Regions from separate parts of the Homo sapiens genome. Here region 2 is linked to region 1. Evidence: promoter capture Hi-C in 16 types of primary human blood cells and fetal thymus (Javierre and others, 2016). All regions are on one chromosome and are shown on one strand. Each heading gives the region's core, a stretch centred on a gene start or on the middle of the fragment in contact. The rest is flanking DNA. Distances are from core to core; before and after follow the strand shown.

Region 1 (4,366 bases), core at 834-3,333:
TCCAGGCTCTCATAACTAATACATGGTGGATCTGGGATTAGAACCCTGGAGTCTGCCTGCACCTCCAGAGAAAATTCTTTGAACAGGTCAACTCAAACCTGTGACTTTTCAGAGAGGAGAACCTGTTCAGCATTCTTCTTTTGTTGTATTCATCCCCTCTACAGTTACACATTATCTTAGAGGATCAGCTGTACAAAATTTAAGATCACACAATTCACTTTGTTTTCTTCTTGACCCTCATTTTTTTAAACTTGGGATTTAATTTTTTTCCATTAAGAATGTGAAAAGAATGAGTATTGCCTTCTCTTTCTAGTCCTGTGGTGGTTTAGGAAGATCCCAAGAAGGGCTGAACTTCCAGGGCTCCTCCTGGGAGAGGGGGCAGAACAGAAGGAAAGATTACACCTTAGCCTGTACTCAAGGGCATTGCTTGTAAGTCTGTCCAACCAGAAGAAAGTTCAGATCCTTTATTTGTGAGCTGGATTATACCTCTGGAAGAGAAAAAAGGGAGAGACAAGTTTTACTCCCTCCTGGAGGCAGATTTCTCTACCTTGATTTTTTCAGAAATTGTGTACATTCTCTCCTCTCATGTATGTATCTCCTACATACCATACACACGATTCTTCTCCCCCTTCTATACCCCAGCCCACGCCAACCCACACCCACTGTTCTCTCTTCCAGCTATGGATCAAGGGAAATCTTCCCGGGTCCCTAGTTGGTATCTGTTTTCATAGCATCTTTGGGGAGGTTTTGTAAACAAAGCATTGGTAGAAGGGCCCTTGGCTGATGGGGCCATAAAGTGCCCTTTCTTTGGTTTTGTGCTCTCCCTCTCTTGTGGGGCCAGTCATTTGAATCCAGAAGATATCCCAGGATGGAGCTGCCCTGAGTATTTCTGTGGCTGGTTGGAAGGCTGGCACACAACAAAGTGGGCATGCAGCAGGCTGCCTCCCTGGCTTAGGCCAAAAAAATAAAGCAACTCAGAGATGGAGAAGAGGCAGGAAATCTATGTTGTAAAAAGTCTTTGTTTAAAGGAATTCCGTTCAGGTGCTGAGAACGGGGTGTTCAGCAGAAGAGGATAATATGAGTAAACATTGGCAGTAAGAACAAACACAGCAGTATCACTGTCTGCGTCTGGCCTCCTCCTGTGCTCAGTCACAGGTCTCTCCCACCGCCCTCTATGATAGCAATCATAAACAACATGTAGAAGGGCTTTACAGTTCACAGACCTCAGTTCCCCTCAGCGGCACTTCCTTGCAGGGTTTCTTTATGCACTGGATGACCCTGGTTCCACATAAATGAAAACTGGGCTTAAAGGACACATCCATGTCCTGGGAGCTGTACAGACTTAAAGAAAAACCTAGATAGGGGCAAAAATTGGGGCAGGCGGTGGGGGTGGGGGGTGGGGGGTGGGGGGGGGGAAGAAGTGGTCGAGAGAGTCATCTAATAGGTCACCAATGTTGCTTCTGGGAGGTTGCCGGAGGGTTGGCTCCTTTCAGCCAGGTTTAGGGCCAGGTCTGGACACACTCAGGAGGCCGGTGGCTGAAGGGCAGAGGGCAGGGTGGAGGCCCAAGTGAGGCCAAGGAAGGAGTGGATGCCGCTGGGGCTGGCACTTCCTTGGCTTCTCAGCGTCCTGGCAACCAAGAAAAGATTCCAGGAGTCGACTGGTGGCACCAATGCGAGAAGCCCCGGGCGGATGAAAGAAGCTGACCCGTGCGAACCCCCCACCCCCTCCACAAAACCAGGAGATTCCTGCCCAAGAGCAAGAGATGGAATTCCCCTAACGGAGGAAGCTGCCGACCTAAGGGCTGGGACTGGCAGCGCGCCCTCTCCGGGAGCTTCAGGTCTGGGGCAGCCTGTGCAGGCGCGGGTGGAGGCCCGGGCGCGTCCCTGGGGGCGGGAGCCAGGGGCGGCCAGCAGGTGGGGCCTGGGAGCTGGACTCCGCCCCCCGCTCCCTCCCCGTTGGTCCGCTGCCGCTCAGCACCGGCCCCTCTCCCGAGCCGGAGCGCGATTGGTGGCAGCGCTTGTCGCTCGGAGGGGGCCGGGCCGCTCTGCTTCGCGGCTCTCCCCGCCGCCGCTGCCGCTGCCGCTGTTCTCCTAGCAGCGCGGGCCGGTCGGACCGCCAAGGCAGCCGGCGCTGGCGATGGGAAGCGGCGTGGCCGCCGACACAGGCAGTGGCAAAGTTTCCCAGACGTACACATCTGGACGCGCGGCTGCCGGCTACCCGTGACCCCTCTAGGAAGGGTTCAGGGATTTTTAATTTGGAAAAAAATCCACCTGGTTTCCTTTGTCAAGGTCTCTCCGGGTGGCCAGCGGCAGGAGCTGCAAACTTGGGCACGGCGGCTACACCGGCAGCGGACCGGGCTTTGGAGAACCTCGGGACTCAGGTGCTGAGGTGCCCAGCGGCTCCGGACGTGCTACGGGGTGCGAGCGCGGGGGAGTTCGGGGCGCACGACAAGGAAGGGCCCCCGGGAGCTCTATATGGAGGAAGGAGCCCAGAATGGTGTGCACCAGGAAGACCAAAACTTTGGTGTCCACTTGCGTGATCCTGAGCGGCATGACTAACATCATCTGCCTGCTCTACGTGGGCTGGGTCACCAACTACATCGCCAGCGTGTATGTGCGGGGGCAGGAGCCGGCGCCCGACAAGAAGCTGGAGGAAGACAAAGGGGACACTCTGAAGATTATTGAGCGGCTGGACCACCTGGAGAATGTCATCAAGCAGCACATTCAAGGTACGGGCGCCCCGGAAACTTGGGTCGCCCATGAGGCCCGGGAGTGCCCCGCGCGGCGCGGGGTGCGCTGGGGCTGGTGCGCATCAACTCAGCCACGGCGGGGCTCTGGGGCCGCAGATGCGTGGTAGTCGTGGGGCCTGCGTGTGAGCTCCTGCCTGCGTTCGGGACCTTCTGTCTGCGGCCGTGCGCTCTTCCCCGGGGCACACGTGTGTGCGCAGGGCTGCACGAGCGGATGTGTGCAGCTAGCTGGCGGTATGGGGGCGCGCTGCGCACGTGTCCAAATGTGCGTGTGACTCTGGGCTGGTTGCTCGCGGGCTCTCGGGATCGCACACAAGTCCGGCTCAGAGTGTGTGTGCATGTGAATGTCTGTGTGTGTACAAGAGGGAACGCGCGGGCAAACGAGCTTTTTTGGCCACTGTAGGCGTCAGGCGAGATGCCCGCGCGGCGGCCCTGACTATTGGCAGTTAAGACCCGCAGGCTGCCGGACAAGCGAGGCTAGGAAAATTGCGTTGTATCAGCCCCAGCCCCAGTCTTGCTGTGATCCCGTTGGTAGGCGATAGGGAATGCAAGGAGCCCTCTGTGGTTGAAAAGCCGCTTGAACCTATAGCAGTCCCTACCCCCACCACAGCCCGCGGGTCCAGGACCCTCTCCAGGAGCAGGTGTCAACGCCGGGAAGTAGCGCTGGAGTCTCTGTCCACTGTGGTGATGACTCCGCCCAAGACTGGAAGAACACGCCCTGGGCTGCGCCTTCCCCGCGGAGCCGCCCGGGACCGGGTGAAGGCCGATCCCTACTGTAGCTCCACTCTCAGGCCCTGGGAGCAGCCGGGGCTGAGCAGACCTGGGTTGGGTCTGAAGTGTAAGGTTACGCTGGTTGGGTGCGCTCCAGACCAGCGCGGGGGTCCAAAGGGAGGGTGGGGGTTGCAGGGCGCTCTCCCGAGGCGACCTGGTCAATGAGCTGTCATGGGAGGGAATGGAGTTCCGGGCGCCAGGAGCACTGGTGCCGGGTGTGCACACACACACACACACGCGCGCGCGCGCGCGCTCACGTCCACACTTCCTCCCCTCCCCGCGCCCCCTGCTTTCTTCCAGGTGTGTGAGCTTCTTAAGGGCAGGGCCGAGCTTGGTTCCCCTGTAAACCTAGCAGGCCCACCAGGCTCAGGGGCCAGTGCATGGCAGACCTTGGCAAAATCGAATTGAACTGAAGGCTTACCCCCCACCCCCCCGCCAGGAGCACTCCCTTTTGTTTACACGTGGATGTCTGAATTCCAATCCTTGCACCTGCTGCTCTTGCCAGAGTAGAGATGGCTCCTCCGTCTGAATTTGGTGTTTCCCCAGGTGTCCAGAATAGTTCCTTTCCAGGAGGGGAAGGTTCAGGGAGGTTCAGGTGAGTGCAGGAGAGGCATCCACATCCATAGTGCTTCCTGACTAATGACTTCAAAACAAGCCCATGGCTTCGGCACCTTCCCAGAAAAGAGGGACATTGACAGCTTCTTCTTCAGACCTGCCTCTGCCTCTCAACCTGGCACTGGGCTTGAAAACCAATTTACCTATCTGTGGGTGCCAGTTGCTGTTATTTCTTACGTGTCCTTTTCCATCCCATAGGTCTTGATTGACTATTAATCAGCAATAGAAGTACA
Region 2 (4,366 bases), core at 490-2,989, 600 kb after region 1:
CTCCCAAGTGGGTCAGTGTTTGGAGTCTAGAAACAACATGTTTTAACAACTCAAAATTCTTCATTGGGTTGGGGCGTTATCAAAGCCAGTTACAGCCCATATCCTTTTTATCTGCCCCTCCTGTAAAAGGCAACCAAGCTCATGGATTCCTTGTAGTTGTCTGAACGTTTCCTTGGTCAGTGTTCCTTCTTTACTCCAAAAGACCCTTTACAACTAGAAATATAGGCCATTCTCTTGGGACCTCCTAATGGCTATTATCTAAAATTCTCCTGATGATACAGATACACACTCAAATATTAGAATAGCATAAACATTTTTCAGACTAGAGTTTCCAGTCTGTGCTTCTGGACAATGAGCAGCCAGATTAGACCCCTAATTCCTAAGCCTACCACTGGGCAGGACGGCAAGTGGTCACTATCAGAGAGGCATGGCAGCACCATACCAGATACAGAATAATAGTTGAAGAGCAGAACGCGAATGAGCAATTAAGTTGCCTCAGTTTGCCAGTAAATCTGAGAACAGACCAACTTTGCTGGGATATAGATTACAGCAGGTAGAAACTGATTTTGTCACCCTCTGGCAATTTAAGCCCCTGATCTTTCCCTCAATTCCTGCCCCATATCAGGGAGCTAGTCATGCCATTGGGCTTTTCATGCCAGTATTTCTCAAACTAAGCCCACTGGACATTTTCTCTGAGTTCATGAGATTCTGATATTGTTTTTTTAATTTGTTTTCATATTGATGAAAATATAAAAATAATCAATATTCATATCTTGTGGGTCAACTGAATGACCAACTCAAACCACAGAATTTCTATGTCCACATGTAGATTTGTGTTTATGACAGCATAAGGGTCAAATAGAACTGCTTTAATTCTCTCAGACTAGTGAAAAATGAGTGTGATGGACTTCAACACAAACAATGTGATCATTGACAAGTGAGGAACAAATGACCTCACAGCATCCTGTAGAAACAAAAGTGTCATGATATTTAGGATAGAGGAAGATGGAAGACACACTGAGTCATCATGCGGCATGCAGCACATTCAGCAGAGTCGTGGCCAACTCACACAAACCTGTGCCATAGCCCCAGGACCATATCCACATGGCAAGAAATGATTTTGTTTTAGCAAACCAACATCATTGATCCTATTAAAGATTAATCTTAATTCTATTGATTTTGTGGATTTGTTTGTATTTTATAAATTCATAAAAGCTTGTCTAAGCTTTTATGTTAAATGTTAATGTTTACACAGTATTGCTTATACTTAAATTTATACATGGGTTATGTTTTTAAGATTATACTTAGTTTAGCATCTGTGTATATTTAAATTAATTATGATAATAAAATTATTTGTCAGCATTGTTTTCTTCTAAAAAGAGACTATGCATCATTCAAGCTGGAAGCACTATTTATTATTCTCTGAATATTACATCATCAATTTCTCTAATACAGTGGCACTTGCCCCCCATTGGTCAATGGGTGTGTCTAATGTATTCTAATGGTTAGACTAACTTCTTTACTTTGTTCTGGCCTCCTTGTTCAAAATCCATGCTCCTGAAGAATGCTGAAATGATCAGTAGTGTTAAACAGGAGTAGAACATAAAGTCCTAGAAGGTTCTCAAGGCAAGTCCTCAAGGGCTAGCATTTTGTCAGAAGGGAAAAGCAGAAACCCAGCATCAGATCTAGGTAAGACTTAGTTGTACCCAGGCAGCAGGACAGTCCAATGCTCAACCCTGGGTTATCTTGATCTCCTCCCACCATAACCATTAAAAACAGGCCTGGAGGACCAAGCCTGCAGCTGAAAATCCACCGGCCCCAGTTGTGAAGTGGCAAAGGCTGAGAGGCAGGACCCAGACTGGTGAATTCACAGATCCATTGCTGGCCACAGAGAAAACAAATTATTTTAGATATAATTAAGTGTAGACAACAAAACACCAAGGCCATCCCAATAAAACATCACATTACTTCTGACTTGAGCTATACAAAAGAAGAGAAGCAAGATCCCGTTAGAAGAAATTGTTGACATATTAGAGCTTTGCCCTTAAGCCCCATCCATGGCCCTTTAAATGTGACCAGCATGTATATGGACAGCGCTGGGATCTGAGGAGGGGATGCCACCTGGGACAGAATGACAGTCAAGGTTAGTAATGCTCGCTCTGGGCCACTGCCTAGAACAGTTCCTGCCTGTCCTGAAGCAAATACCCACAAAATCCAAGAGAGCTATATGAACGAAGGAGGTAGACAAGCTTTTATATGCAGACACACTTGGTTTATATTAAATACATACACATACTTTTTAATCCCACAAAGAACTGTGCTTTCTGCCATTTTTCTTGAAACATACAACCCCTTTTGGGCTACCTTTCATGGGTTTTCATTGTTACTAAAGACATGGATACACACAAATACTTTTATATCATAAGGGAAACAATAGTGCAAGGGTGCTGCAAAGGATAAGGGACACACAGTTTAAAGTTAAGAGATGGTGTGCTGAACTCAGCAGCACTCGGTCTGAAAATTGCAGGCCCTGCCCAGGCCTGCTGAAGCCACTGTATATGCCTTGCTAAGGCAAACATCAGTTCTTCTCAGCATTAATTCCAGGTGCCTACAAAGGGAGCAGAGGATGAAATGATGTTCAAAGGACATTCATCCTTTGGATTTGGGCCAACCATTCTCCAGTGTAACCAGTTTGCTGCTGGGCATCTTTTTCTGTAATACATTTATTAATTAACAACCTATATCAGATCATAGAAGTAGATTCCCAACGCAGAATACCATTACGTGTCTGGGTACACATAATGATGCCATTCCCACATCTTGGCCAACAGCCCACACTGACACGGCCCTGCTGATGTGGGTATAACACATTCTATTAAATGAAAAACCTAACATAATGGCAGCTATTAATACCTTCTAATATTAATAGGCAGCATTAATCTTATGCAATAGAATCTGTCCACTTACCAAGCACTTCGTTTCACAGCTTTTCCCAATTTCTTTAAGTGTCCTCCCACCACCCTGATCACTATCTGCTGGACACTCTCTGATTTGTCATAACTACCAAGGTGAGGGCTGGAGGGGCCACCAATGCACTAACAGCACATAAAAAGTAACCTCAATTGGGACTCTAAAGCTCTCTTATTCTCTCAGCTACATCCACCCCAAGAGGAGAATGAACACAGGAGACATCCTCTTTAGTATAACACACTCTTACTATCCTTCAGATCTCAGCTTTGGTGTCACTTCCATCGGGAAGACTTATCTGCCTGTCTCCTCTACTTCAGTAACAACAACAACAACTGGATTAAATGTGCTCCAACAAGGTTCCCCAGGACTGTTGGTTTTTCCGTATTTGCCATCACCTCCTGTGGTCTTCTTGTTAGCAGGGGGCATATCTCCAACCAAAGCATAGAAAGCATTCAATAAATATTGAGTAAGTGGACAAATGACTGAACAGATTTTTAGATGGATTAATGCATAGGTAGATGGCAGCATGGGTGGATGGGTGGGTGGCTGGGTGGATGGATGGATGGATGGATAGATGGGTGGGTGGGTGGATGGATGGATAGATGGGTGGGTGGGTGGGTGGGTGGATTGTTGGATGGATGGATGGATAGATGGATGGATGGATGGATGGATGGATGAATGTTCTTTGACTTTGTTAGAGGTTCTGTCTAAGGAAAGGAGTGTTCTCTGGTATGATGGTTTAAGGGTGATCTTGCCACAAGATGGCGCTCATAATTTTCTTAATTTATGGGTTTTATAGAAAATTTCCATTTCAAATTTTAAATTGTCTTAGAATCATTATATATGTTTCACAGCTAATGTAACTTATTTACTATACTGTCCATGTTTCATGTTCCAACACATTTCACTCAATAACCAACATGCTCTTTCCTCCTGGAACATCAAAACGACCCTGCAGCATTTTGCTGTGATGTTGGGTGGGTTGCTTTGGGGCTCTGTGCAGAGTGCAGAGAACAACGTTAGTCCCTTGATAGTACAGGGAATCAAAGCATTGTTCTTCTACCACACCATCTCCAACAACAGAGTCAGCAGAAAAGTGAAACCTCGACTTGAAATATCCATTAACCTTTGAAAACATGAATCTTGCCTTGACAAAATAATAATCTCTTACATTTACACAGAGTTTTATGCCACACAAAGCAATTTTGCATCACCAAAAAACAGTTTTTGAGTACTTGAGAACATGCCAGTCACTTTGGATTTATTAACTACATTTAACCTTCATGCCAACCCTATGAATTATGTCTTAATATCTCCCATCTTACAGATAATAAAATGAAGGTTCAGAGAGGGGATGTGACCCACCAGAATTACCTAGGTGGTAAGTGGCAGAGGT

The links. The method cuts DNA at HindIII sites, captures the fragments that hold promoters and counts their contacts. A CHiCAGO score of 5 or more calls a contact.
Region 2: a contact is called between a fragment that was not itself captured here and the fragment with the promoter of GALNT18 in region 1, in 1 of 17 cell types (M2 macrophages). The highest score is 7.0, in M2 macrophages.

Annotation. Positions count from the first base shown.
Region 1 is chr11:11,619,722-11,624,087 of GRCh38, reverse strand. It overlaps GALNT18 (polypeptide N-acetylgalactosaminyltransferase 18), which reads left to right and starts at 2,083. Exons shown (of 11, transcript NM_198516.3): 1 at 2,083-2,729. The coding sequence starts at 2,495. RefSeq lists silencers at 1,781-2,140, 2,891-2,970, 2,991-3,060 and enhancers at 1,643-2,143, 2,261-2,340, 2,551-2,600, 3,341-3,570, 3,233-4,202 and 1 more. The HindIII fragment of the contact is 10,916 bases long and covers 1-4,366 here.
Region 2 is chr11:11,021,926-11,026,291 of GRCh38, reverse strand. No RefSeq gene overlaps it. Among named protein-coding and RNA genes, the nearest start is that of LINC02752, 91 kb to the left of the region's middle. The HindIII fragment of the contact is 1,024 bases long and covers 1,228-2,251 here.